Linked DNA regions of Homo sapiens: regions 2, 3 and 4 are each linked to region 1. The links are contacts of gene promoters, found by promoter capture Hi-C in blood cells and fetal thymus (Javierre and others, 2016). All regions are on one chromosome and are shown on one strand. The core of a region is centred on a gene start or on the middle of the fragment in contact, and the rest is flanking DNA. Distances in the headings are between cores, read along the strand shown. Region 1 holds the start of GDF6 (growth differentiation factor 6). Region 2 has its middle 320 kb from the start of GDF6. Region 3 has its middle 280 kb from the start of GDF6. Region 4 has its middle 260 kb from the start of GDF6.

Region 1 (2,891 bases), core at 132-2,631:
TTATTTCCATTGAGTCTTTTTTTTTTCCATCCGTGAAGGTGAAAATAGTCAACGCCAACCTCACAAAGCTGTTGGCACGATTAAAGGAGGGTACTTTATGGTTGGTGCCTGAGCACCCAATCAGTACTGAGGGAAACTCTTCTGCCCATAGCAGTCCAGGGCAGAGCACTGTGGCAGACAGAAGCAGCGCTACGCCGCATCGCCTTTCAGCGTGCAGGCCCAGGAATGAGCGAGGCAGTGGGCGGGGAAGACAGGCACGGGGAATCTGGGGACAGATAAAGGAAACTCGTGATGGGGCGAGGCTGGGCTGAAGAGAAACAGATTGGGGTAGAGCTGCAAAGGGAGGGGTCCACTGGAAGGCGAGGGGGGAGGCCGGGAAGAGAGAGGGTGGGAAGGCAGTGTGAGATGGGAGGGCAGTGTGAGAAGAAAAGCAGGCTGGGGAAGAGGGATTGGAATGCAGAAGGAACTTGGGGAAGGAGGAAGTCCTGCAGGCGGGAGGGAAAGAAGAGAGGGAAAATGGGGATGCAGTGGAGGCGGGGGGCAGGCCGCGAGAGGGAGAGGATCCCGGGAGCAGACGAAGAAGTGGAGCAGCTAAAGTCTGCGTCAGAAGAGGTTGGGGACTGCGAGAGGAGAGGCTGGGGCCTGCAGGGGAGCGCAGCAGCTTTTAGCATCGATCCAAACTCTAAAGACTCGTGGCCTTTGCCTGACCTCGAGGGTCGGGAATAGACGCCTGTCTTTGTGGAGAGCGATACCCAACCGAGAAAATGGGGCTGTTCCGAGCTGGGCCCTGCGCCTGGCCCAGGGCGAGGCTTCTCTGGCTCCGGGCTGGCCCCTGAGGGGCGCAAACGGCAGGCCTGGCGGTTGGGGCCGAGGAGGGAGGGTACCACCGCCCCGAGGCAGCACGCAGCCTGCAGCAGAGGCGCCTGCTCCAAGCTGTCTCTTGGGGGCGCCGCCGCCGCTTCCCTCCTCCGGGGCCGCTCGCTCCCAGGAAAGTGGAGGCGGCTGGCGAGGACCGAGAGCCGGGGCCGCGCTGCGGAGGGACCACACCTCCGGGAGTTCGAGGGGGACCCTGGCGCGGCGGGCCAGCCTTTGCTCCCCGGCCACGGGCCGGCAGCGCCCGCCTTCCCCCGGTCAGCGCTTGCGGCCCGCGCCGCGCGCACCGCCCGGCAACCCCGCGCGCGTCCCGCGGGGGCGCTGCGTCTTCCTGCCACACCGGCGCACCGCGGCCCCTCTCCCCCACACCTCCGGCCCGCACCACCCGGCTCTCCTCCCACCCTCCCCACCCCTCCTCTGCCCTCCCTCCCCATTCCTCCCCTCCCGGCGAGGGGCGGGAGGGGGCGTGGCGGGGCCGGGGTTTGTGTGGCTGGGACCCGGCTCCTCGCACTCCGAGTCCGCCCGAGGAGCCGGGCCCCGGCCGCTGTCCAGCCGCTCCGTGCCCCGCGCGTCCTGCGCCGCCGCCACCGCCTCCTGGGGAGACGCAGCCACTTGCCCGCCATGGATACTCCCAGGGTCCTGCTCTCGGCCGTCTTCCTCATCAGTTTTCTGTGGGATTTGCCCGGTTTCCAGCAGGCTTCCATCTCATCCTCCTCGTCGTCCGCCGAGCTGGGTTCCACCAAGGGCATGCGAAGCCGCAAGGAAGGCAAGATGCAGCGGGCGCCGCGCGACAGTGACGCGGGCCGGGAGGGCCAGGAACCACAGCCGCGGCCTCAGGACGAACCCCGGGCTCAGCAGCCCCGGGCGCAGGAGCCGCCAGGCAGGGGTCCGCGCGTGGTGCCCCACGAGTACATGCTGTCAATCTACAGGACTTACTCCATCGCTGAGAAGCTGGGCATCAATGCCAGCTTTTTCCAGTCTTCCAAGTCGGCTAATACGATCACCAGCTTTGTAGACAGGGGACTAGGTAAGTGGCAAAGAAAACGCTCGACTCCCCTCCCGCTGGAGCTCGGCAGCCAGGGAGCTGTTCCCGCTGGAGGCTACATTTGTGAATTCCCTTCCTGCTCTGGACACTTCCTTTTTACTTTTCTTAAATTGTTTTTCTCAAGCTCGAGTAAGTTTCTGAATGTGGCTGCGGATTCTATTCCAGTCTCTAAACCTCCCTTCCTTTCCCCCCCTTTCTTTCTCTCTCCCTTCTTTCCTTCTTCCTCTTTTGCAGAAGGCAGCGTGGTTGCCGCTTGTTGGTGGCTGGTGGGGGAAACGTGGAGGACGGGAGGCAGCAGGCGGATGAACCCGGCTGGAGAGGGGTCGGGATGGGGACTGATGGAATCGGTGTCTCGGGATACTGGGTTCGCAGTCCAAGGCCTGAGCTGCTGGGGCAGATCTAGGGCATGAGACAGCCTTGGAAAGCCCTGGGCAAAGCCGGCACTAGGGAGTCCCACAGTCTGAGGAACTAGTCCGCGAGCGGCGTCGGGCAGCCCCCTGGTCCTGGCGCCGCGCGGGTTTTCCGTTGGTCCCTGCGCTGGGTGGGATGGTCAGCCGGGCTGGAGCCCTGCGCCCTCCGGCTTTTTTGCTCCAGCGTGGTGCTCCCGGCTGCTCCGAGGCCTCAACACGAGTGGTTTCTGCAGATGCGGCGGCAGCAGTTGGGCGGGCCGGGACAGGGACGGCTAAGTTCGGAGGTTGTGGGTACTTAATACACAAAGGTACATGGGTATGCCCATCCACCTTTCTCAGCCAGGCGACGTTCCTCTCTCTACGCTATTCCTGAGGGCTGGTGGGGGTCTGGGAAATCCCTGGTACCCTCTGTGGGAACGCCTGCATGTGTGGGTGTCTGCGGAAACCCTTGCGGCCCCTTCTTGCCACCGGCGTTGATCTGCAGCGTGGCCAGTGCCCTCAAGAAAACCTCGCACCACCTCTGGTCCCAGAAATCAGGGAAGGATCCACAGGCATCGGAAACT
Region 2 (2,891 bases), core at 201-2,700, 320 kb after region 1:
GTCACCTGGAAAGAACCTTTGTCAAATTTAGAGTCTATCCTATACTAAATTCTGAAGCCGGAATGAGTGACTTTCAGAGGCAGTAAGTTACCCCTACTGAAATTATGTAAGGAGGGGTTAGAGATCACTTACTGATAATGGGAAGACAGTGAAACGGGATCTGCAATTTGAAGTTATAAATTTGAAGAACATCAAATATGTTGGCTTTGTGTTGGATGTCATCTTGTCTCAATTGGAGAAACAGCCTGAACAAAGAGAGATTAAAATGCAACATTTCATCATGCACCGTATTTTACATTTCCAATCACATAGGCACAGCCTCACAACTCAGCGGACATAATTATCAAGACCCACAGTTCCCTTAGTCCCTGGGATGAGTAAATGATCACCAACTAGGTGAGCATTTTACATCCAGTTTGGATTTTTCTCAGCCTCATGAGCAAAGTACCAGGCATTTGAGTAACCGAGGACGAAAAAGTGGAGGCGTTTCATTTTATTTTATAACCCAGATGAACGTCCTCTCCCCTGCTGATTTCTGATCTTAGAAACTAAATATCTGCTAAGGGGGACAAATTCCAAAAAGGGGAAAATTAAGCTGAGTTTCAGTTAAGTGTGTCCCAGTGGTGAGCATTTAAATCAGAGCTCAAGGAAAAAAAAAAAAAAAGTCTTATAAACCAAGTGGTGAAGCCTCCCCGCCCTGGGCTCTTAGGGTCCAGCCCTACGAGAAAGGGCAGGTCCCTAAGGCAGCTCTCTCTTGCACTGGCTGGATGAACTGCTGTGTCAGCAGCTCCATGCATCATTAGCCGACCTGGAAAAACTCCAGCTGCTTTCCTCTTACACTCTCTCTGTACCTCTCACTTTAAAAAAGCTTTCATCAACATCATCCCAAACATCTTTTGTTTTCCCAGCTGGAGTAGCCTTTCTTTCTGTTTGTATCCCATCTTTAGCCAACTAAGTCTTTTGCCCTTAAGAACGGCAACCATGAATCAAAGGGAATCATCACCTGTAAACTCTAAAGTGAGTCTGAGCGCTTTGGGATTCCCCCTCCCATCTATCTTCTTGGAGCTGCCATATTTAGTTACATTTTCCTGTTCACTGTTGGTGGTCATTATCTCCCTCCTTTTTCCATCCTCTGTATTAGAAACAAAAGTATGAAGATCCTCCCAGCAATATTTTCTTCTGAGATTTAGCTCCAATACAACATAATCCTCTCTTTGCTTGGTGGGTTTCCCAATTCCTCTGTCAGGCAGGGGTGAGCTACGTGTCTGGTCTTTGGCTGGAGTTATTTACTACATAAAATGATCTCTTCTTCCAGGGTTTCCCCCAAATTCCTCTGCAAATGGTTTTACAATAAATCCAGGAAAGAAAATCAGACCTTTTTTTTCATTTGTTTTTTAAAGAACTGACACCTATTCCTTGCCTACAAAGCCTCACACATAATTTTTGGCTTTTACTGTCTTCAGTACTTTAATGATCATCATACAAAACTGGATCGAACATTTAAAAGTCATCTTTTCATCCTGCTGTCTCCAGAGAAGAATCTCTGCTTTGATTTTAAACATTGTAAAAGCACAAAATTCTGCTGTTTCACTCAGGAATTCTGGTACCTCAGGAATACTTCTTTATAATTGTTTCTTATGCCCATTTCTTGCTATTTTAGATTATGGAAGAAATGGTGAACAGTCTATCATTATTTTCTGGGTGACACAACTTGAAATGATGAAAATATTTTCTAGGTGAGCTGCTTCCAAGCTGGGGGTTGCTGAACTTTCACCACAGCTCAATCAATTCAGCTAGCCTTTAATACCATGCCCCATGTATTGTCTGTCACTTGCTTCATCTTTTTGAATTTGGAAAATCCAATACCCAGATCACAAGATGAAAAAATCCAGGGAATTGAGAACAGTTCAAGTACATACAAAAGTATTAATTTACAATTTGTTGCTTACTAAAAGATTTTAATTGTTCCATGTAAGTAGATCCGGTCTCTTGGATGAGGTTGAAAATCCTCCCTGGCCCATGTAAAGCTTTCTGGATTTTTATTCTCAAAGTGTCAACTGGTTACTTTCAAAAGCTAAGTTCATCATGTCAAGCTAAAAGTATTGACTGATTATGTGAGAGAGACCTCTGTTACCCTTCTAGATAATTCCTGAGTGACAGAAAGGGGAATGGAAAAGGAAAGAAAGTGAAGGAAATGGGTACCCTTGGAAGGTGGGGCTTTTGTGCCAGTCAATAAACTTAAGGAAAAACTGTTAACATGGCAATGACCATACCTTGAACTTCAAGTACCTGAGCCTAGTAAACATGTAGCTTTCACACAAACTAGAAAACTAAAGCCCGAAGAGGTGGTGTTATTAGACAAAACCGTATACCTAGGAACTGGTAAGACTCAACTCTCTTGGACTATTTGCTAAAATATTGACATATTTCTGTGTGGTTAGTAAATAACTATTTCCTTGATCCCCAAGTAACCCCTGCTGCCCTAATTCTTCCAGCGTTCACCCAGCAGGCCTTATTCATTATCCTGCAACTGAAGGTCAGCCCTAGACACAGCAGGAAGCCTCCCGCACCCTGCTGTAGCTCAATGGCTGGTATTCCTACCAATTTGTCAGGACCTGTAACATCTCAGTTAAATATTGAAACATGGTTCCCATTCTTAATTGTGAAACTTGGCTCCATCTGCTGTGCTGGCATGTGACCACAGCCTCCAGTGACCTCTACCTGGGGAGTCTGAGAATCTCAGAATCTGGGAATCCTTGATCTTTGTATTGTGTTTGTTTTTGTTTGTTTGTTTTTAAGGGCCCAGCCATTTTTGGATACACAAACTGCTTTTACAAAACTCTGGTCTTTTTTGGAATCAGTACCTGTTATGGGCTGAGTTGTGTCCCCTC
Region 3 (2,891 bases), core at 261-2,760, 280 kb after region 1:
TGCCTGTGTCTGTGACCAGGAAGAGGATGGCAGTGGAAGGCATCATTACCACCTCAGGTCATTGGAAGAGGAGAGGACCAAGACTCAGAACTAAAATGGGACTTCCCCTGGCCAGCTGCTGATCTTCTACAAATGTGCCCCATTTTGGCCACAGTACAGGTGTTTTGTTGCTTCCTTAGTTGACTGTCTTAGTTGCTTCCCCAAGCTGCTTCCCTAGTTGACTGAGGAAGCCGACACTACTGTCCTCAGGGAATGACCTAGGGTGGATAGTACACCATGATCTGGAAAAGATGAGAATGGATACTCAGTTTACACCAAACTTAGATTTTCATTGATCCCATGTAGCAATGAAATTCACATATTTATTCAGCTCTTGCTATTAGCAAGACACTCTCCTAGGATCTGTGGGAAAGATATAAAGAGGAATGGATCATGCCCCCGCTCTCAAAGACTCATTCTACTGTAGGGTAGACAGACATATTTCCCACTCTGTAGAATATAACTATAATAAAAACATATTGTTGTAAGTGCTATAATAGAGGTGTGACATGCCACATGTAGTGGGACAGTTGGGAAGCAGAAAAAAATTATTCCCACTGGGGGCATGTGGGAGGACCTTACAAAGATCCTACCATCTTTCTCTCTGTAAGAGAGAAAGTGGCATTTGCACAGGACCTTCAAAGATAGTAGGAATTTAGTGGAGAGATGAGCATTCAGTGAACGCAACAGAGCACATGGCTTGTTAGAAATCACAATTAATTTGGTATATTTGAAACAGATGAAACTTTCAGGGGGAGCCATAACAAAGATTTTAAAAAAGGGGCATTTAGAGTTGATCACAGAGGACATGAGTACGCAGATGAGGAATTTGTGTTTTATCCCATATGTAGTAGCAAACTGAAGACATTTGAGCAGGGGATTTATATGTTCAGCTCTTTTCTTTAGAAAGAGTTTTGTCAGTAGCCTTTAAGATGGAATGGAGAGATGGGAGGCTAGAAAACCAGGTAGGGAACTTTGGAATCAATGGCTGAAGTTTTGTCTTCTTTTTTAGAGACAGAATGAAGCTGAAAGGTCACCCCCATGTCTGAGGCTGGCAGTATAGCATAGCAGAAAAGAGCAGGGGAAAGCTACACCCATGCCCAAGTCCTTATCTGCCACTTGGTACCCATTTGATTTTGAGCAAGTTACTTTTTATACCTCAGTTTTCTCATCTGTAAAACATTGCTAATAAATGGAATATTCCTTACAAGGATGTTGACAGGAGTTTTAAGTGTGTTATCTAAAAAGCACTTAAGATAGCATTAAAGCTGATAATTAAACTTTCAGGAATTTCACAAGGTGGTAGACATCATGTTGGTAGATGGAAATAAGCAATAATGTAAGTATTTACACCATGGAAGCTGGAAAATGCTATAAATCAAAGAGAAAAGAAAAGGAAAGAAAGTGAGAAACAGAAAACCCACATAGGACTGAGCTCTGAGACTACCTCAAATTTCAAAACCAGCATCTCAAGCAACTTTGAGTTCTTTGAGTGGTACTAAACATTTGATGGAAAGAACAAGGTCTTAAAAATTAGATATTGCTCAAAGATCAGAGAGTTGTAGATGTGTGGTATTATTTCTGAGGGCTCTGTTCTGTTCCATTGGTCTATATCTCTGTTTTGGTACCAGTACCATGCTGTTTTGGTTACTGTAGCCTTGTAGTATAGTTTGAAGTCAGGCAGCCTGATGCCTCCAGCTTTGTTCTTTTTGCTTAGGATTGACTTGGCAATGTAGGCTCTTTTTTGGTTCCATATGAAACCTGACAAAAACAAGAAATGGGGAAAGGATTCCCTATTTAACAAATGGTGCTGGGAAAACTGGCTAGCCATATGTAGAAAGCTGAAACTGGATCCCTTCCTTACACCTTATACAAAAATTAATTCAAGATGGATTAAAGACTTAAATGTTAGACCTAAAACCATAAAAACCCTAGAAGAAAACCTAGGCAATACCATTCAGGACATAGGCATGGGCAAGGACTTCATGTCTAAAACACCAAAGGCAACGGCAACAAAAGCCAAAATTGACAGATGGGATCTAATTAAACTAAAGAGCTTCTGCACAGCAAAAGAAACTACCATCAGGTGAACAGGCAACCTACAGAATGGGAGAAAATTTTTGCAATCTATCCATCTGACAAAGGGCTAATATCCAGAATCTACAAAGAACTCAAACAAATTTACAAGAAAAAACAAACAACCCCATCAAAAAGTGGGCAAAGGATGTGAACAGACACTTCTCAAAAGAAGACATTCATGCAGCCAACAGACACATGAAAAAATGCTCATCATCACTGGCAGTCAGAGAAATGCAAATCAAAACCACAGTGAGATACCATCTCACACCAGTTAGAATGGTGTGAGGAAACAAAGGTGTGAGGAAACAAAGTCAGGAAACAACAGGTGCTGGAGAGGATGTGGAGAAATAGGAACACTTTTACACTGTTGGTGGGACTGTAAACTAGCTCAACCATTGTGGAAGTCAGTGTTGCAATTCCTCAAGGATCTTGTACTAGAAATACCATTTGACCCAGCAATCCCATTACTGGGTATATACCCAAAGGAATATAAATCATGCTGCTATAAAGACACATGCACACATATGTTTACTGCGGCACTACTCACAATAGCAAAGACTTGGAACCAACCCAAATGTCCAACAATGATAGACTGGATTAAGAAAATGTGGCACATATACACCATGGAATACTATGCAGCCATAAAAAATGATGATTTCATGTCCTCTGTAGGGACATGGATGAAGCTGGAAACCATCATTCTCAGCAAACTATCACAAGGACAAAAAACCAAACACCACGTGTTCTCACTCATAGGTTGGAATTGAACAATG
Region 4 (2,891 bases), core at 102-2,601, 260 kb after region 1:
GGCTAGCTTTTTAAATTTCACAGAGCTCCTTCTGTTTTTTGCTTATTGCTTTTTCTTTTTTGTCTTTTTTCTTCTCTTCTTTTCTTTATTTTTCATTCATTCATTCATTCATTCATTTTAGGGGGGTGGGTGTTGTGTTAAAAAATATGATGGCTCACTTTCTGAGATTTCTTGGCACTATTCTTCTCTCCCATTGTTATTTGAATCTTCTCTTGCCTTCATCTCTAGTGACCCTTTTCTGCTCAATTTTGATTCTCCTTCCAACAGGTTTTCCTCAGTGTAAAATTCTGTCCTGGAAGGGAGCCCTGGAAAGTCAGTTTTGAGAGCATGTGGAGTTTAGACTGATCCAACTCCTTTAAATCTCCCTGTGAGCCCCTTGCATTGGTCTACGATTGAACTAGGAAAAACATTCTCCATTTCAGCTGCTGTTCTCAGGTGGGCCTCCTGGTGCTTTGCTCTCACCTGGTTGCATTTGGGAGTTCACAGACCATCTCATCATTCAGTTTTTAATATAAATAGTGTCTGTGGAATTTGCTTTTTCTATCTAGTTGCTTCTGTTTTAAATGTGGGGATTTGGAAAGATTTTTCAAAAATCTGTGATGACATTGTTGTCATCTTCCAAGAATCTCCTTCAGATTTCTTTCTTTTTTCTTTTTTTTTCTTTTTTTGACACAAGATTTAAAAGAGAAGTTTTTTGTTAGTGATGATATTGTTTTGTTTTAAAACTTTTTGTTTTTAACTTTTAGAAGAATTGCCTTTTACCTTCTTGTTTTATTATTAAATTTCTAGATTTGTTATAAGAGTTCTAGTCTTGTTTTTGTATTCAGGAATGGCTTTGGGTGCAAAGATATTCATATCTCTGTTATCTTCATTGTGAAATGTACTCCTTACCATTATAAAGTTCCCTTTTTTGTTTTATTTAAATAATTCTGCAAGTAGATGAAGTTACTTTTTGTTTGCGTTTCCTGCAATATTTTGTTATTATTTTTTATTTAAGCAGAGAATTGTCTTTTAAAAGGATTAAAACTGGGAAGTTTGAAATTTATATTTATGGGAAGTAGAATAGTGACCCCCAAAGCTTTCCAAATCCTAATCCCCAGAACCTGTGATTGTTGCATTACAAGGCAAGAATCAATTAAGTTTGAAGACTGAATTAAGGTTGGTAACCAGCTAACCTCAAAATAGGGAGAGTAGCCTAGATAACTCAGGTGAGCCCAATATAAATCACAAGACCTTTAAATGGGGATGATGAGGGGCAGAAACGTCAGAACCAGAGAGAAGACGTCACGAGAAGGGCTTGATCAGCCATTGAAGATAGAAAAAGACATGAACAAGGAAGCTGGAAGATGCAAGAAAACCATTTCTTTTCTAGGACCTCCAGAAAAGAATGCAGCTCTGTCAACACCTTAATTTTAGCTGAGACTCACTTCAGACTTCTGACCTCCAGAACTGTAAGATAATAAGTTTATGTTATTGTAAGTCAAATTTATGGCAATTTGTTATAGCAGCAATAGGAAACAAGTGCAATATTATTTCTATATTTACCACTTATGGACCTCTTCATTCCTTTGTGTAGATACAAATTTCCATCTGGTGTCCTTGTCCTTCTGCCTGAAAAGCTTCCTTTAACATCTCTTATATTGAGGGTCTGATATCTGAAAAAAATATTTGTGTCACCCTCAATTTTGAAAGATATTTTCATTTGGTACAGAATTCTAGTGAGTGTTTTTTTTTTTAATGCCTTATAGATGTCACTTCCTGCTCCTTTGGTGTGCAAAATTATAATGAGAAGTACAATGTCATTCATGTTTTTGTTTCGTGTACCTAACGTGTCTCTTTCCCCCTCTGGCTGTCTTTAAAATTTCTCTTTATCATTGATTTTGAGCAATCTTACTATGTGCCTTAGTTTCATTTCTGTTATGTTTATTTTATGTGATATTTATTGATCTTTTTGATCCTATAGGTTTATAGTTTTTATAAAATTTAGACCAGTTTTAACTGTTTTTTCAGATTTTTTCAAATTTTTAAAATCTTTTTCTCCTCTTTGAAGAATCCCATTATACCTATATTAGACCACTTGCTATTGTAATAGATATCATGGAGACTCCTACAACTTTTTTCTTTCTCTCTGTGTGTCATTTGTATAGGTTCTGTTGCTATTTGATCAAGTTTATTGATCTTTTCTTCTTCAGTGTCTTAAGATATTAGACAGATATTAATCTCATCCAGTGTATTTTAATTCAGGCACTTTTAATTTCTACATGTTCCATTTTGTTATTTGTAAATGTCTTCTATGTCTCTCCCAATAATGTTAATACTTCCATTCACATTCTCGATAATGGTTTTTTTTTTTTTTTTTTTTTTTTGACGGAGTCTTGCTCTGTTGCCCAGGCTGGAGTGCAAGTGGCGCAATCTCACCTCACTGCAACCTCAACCTCCTGGGTTCAAGCAGTTCTCCTGCCTCAGCCTCCCAAGTAGCTGGGATTACAGGCGCCCACCACCACACCCTGCTAATTTTTGTATTTTTAGTAGAGACAGGGTTTCACCGTGTTGGCCAGGCTGGTCTCAAACTCCTGACCTCCAGATCTGCCCACTGTGGCCTCCCAAGGTGCTGGGATTGTAATCCATGCCCGGCAAGAATGTTTTTAATATTTATAATAGTTTTTAAAGATCCTGTGTGCTAATCTATCCTCTCTGTCATGTCTAGGCCTGTTTATAATGATTGGATTGTCCCTGAATTGTAGTTTCCCTTTTCTTCTTTGCATGTCTGTTAATTTTTGATTGGATACTGACATTGTGAGTTTTACACTTCGAGTGATGTGTTTTGTTGTATTCTTCTGGAGAGTTGGGTTTTGTTCTGATATACAGTTATTTTGGGTCAGTTTGATCCA

What was found. Contacts are between HindIII fragments. The CHiCAGO score rates a contact against its expected background, and 5 or more counts as called.
Region 2: a contact is called between a fragment that was not itself captured here and the fragment with the promoter of GDF6 in region 1, in 1 of 17 cell types (M2 macrophages). The highest score is 5.5, in M2 macrophages.
Region 3: a contact is called between a fragment that was not itself captured here and the fragment with the promoter of GDF6 in region 1, in 13 of 17 cell types (M1 macrophages, M2 macrophages, fetal thymus and 10 more). The highest score is 10.0, in M1 macrophages.
Region 4: a fragment that was not itself captured here is called in contact with the fragment with the promoter of GDF6 in region 1 in 1 of 17 cell types (M1 macrophages); the score reaches 6.2 in M1 macrophages.

Annotation. Positions count from the first base shown.
Region 1 is chr8:96,159,296-96,162,186 of GRCh38, reverse strand. It overlaps GDF6 (growth differentiation factor 6), which reads left to right and starts at 1,381. Exons shown (of 2, transcript NM_001001557.4): 1 at 1,381-1,900. The coding sequence starts at 1,495. The HindIII fragment of the contact is 9,891 bases long and covers 1-2,891 here.
Region 2 is chr8:95,844,322-95,847,212 of GRCh38, reverse strand. No RefSeq gene overlaps it. Among named protein-coding and RNA genes, the nearest start is that of GDF6, 320 kb to the left of the region's middle. The HindIII fragment of the contact is 1,159 bases long and covers 871-2,029 here.
Region 3 is chr8:95,882,150-95,885,040 of GRCh38, reverse strand. No RefSeq gene overlaps it. Among named protein-coding and RNA genes, the nearest start is that of GDF6, 280 kb to the left of the region's middle. The HindIII fragment of the contact is 5,770 bases long and covers 1-2,891 here.
Region 4 is chr8:95,899,048-95,901,938 of GRCh38, reverse strand. No RefSeq gene overlaps it. Among named protein-coding and RNA genes, the nearest start is that of GDF6, 260 kb to the left of the region's middle. The HindIII fragment of the contact is 541 bases long and covers 1,081-1,621 here.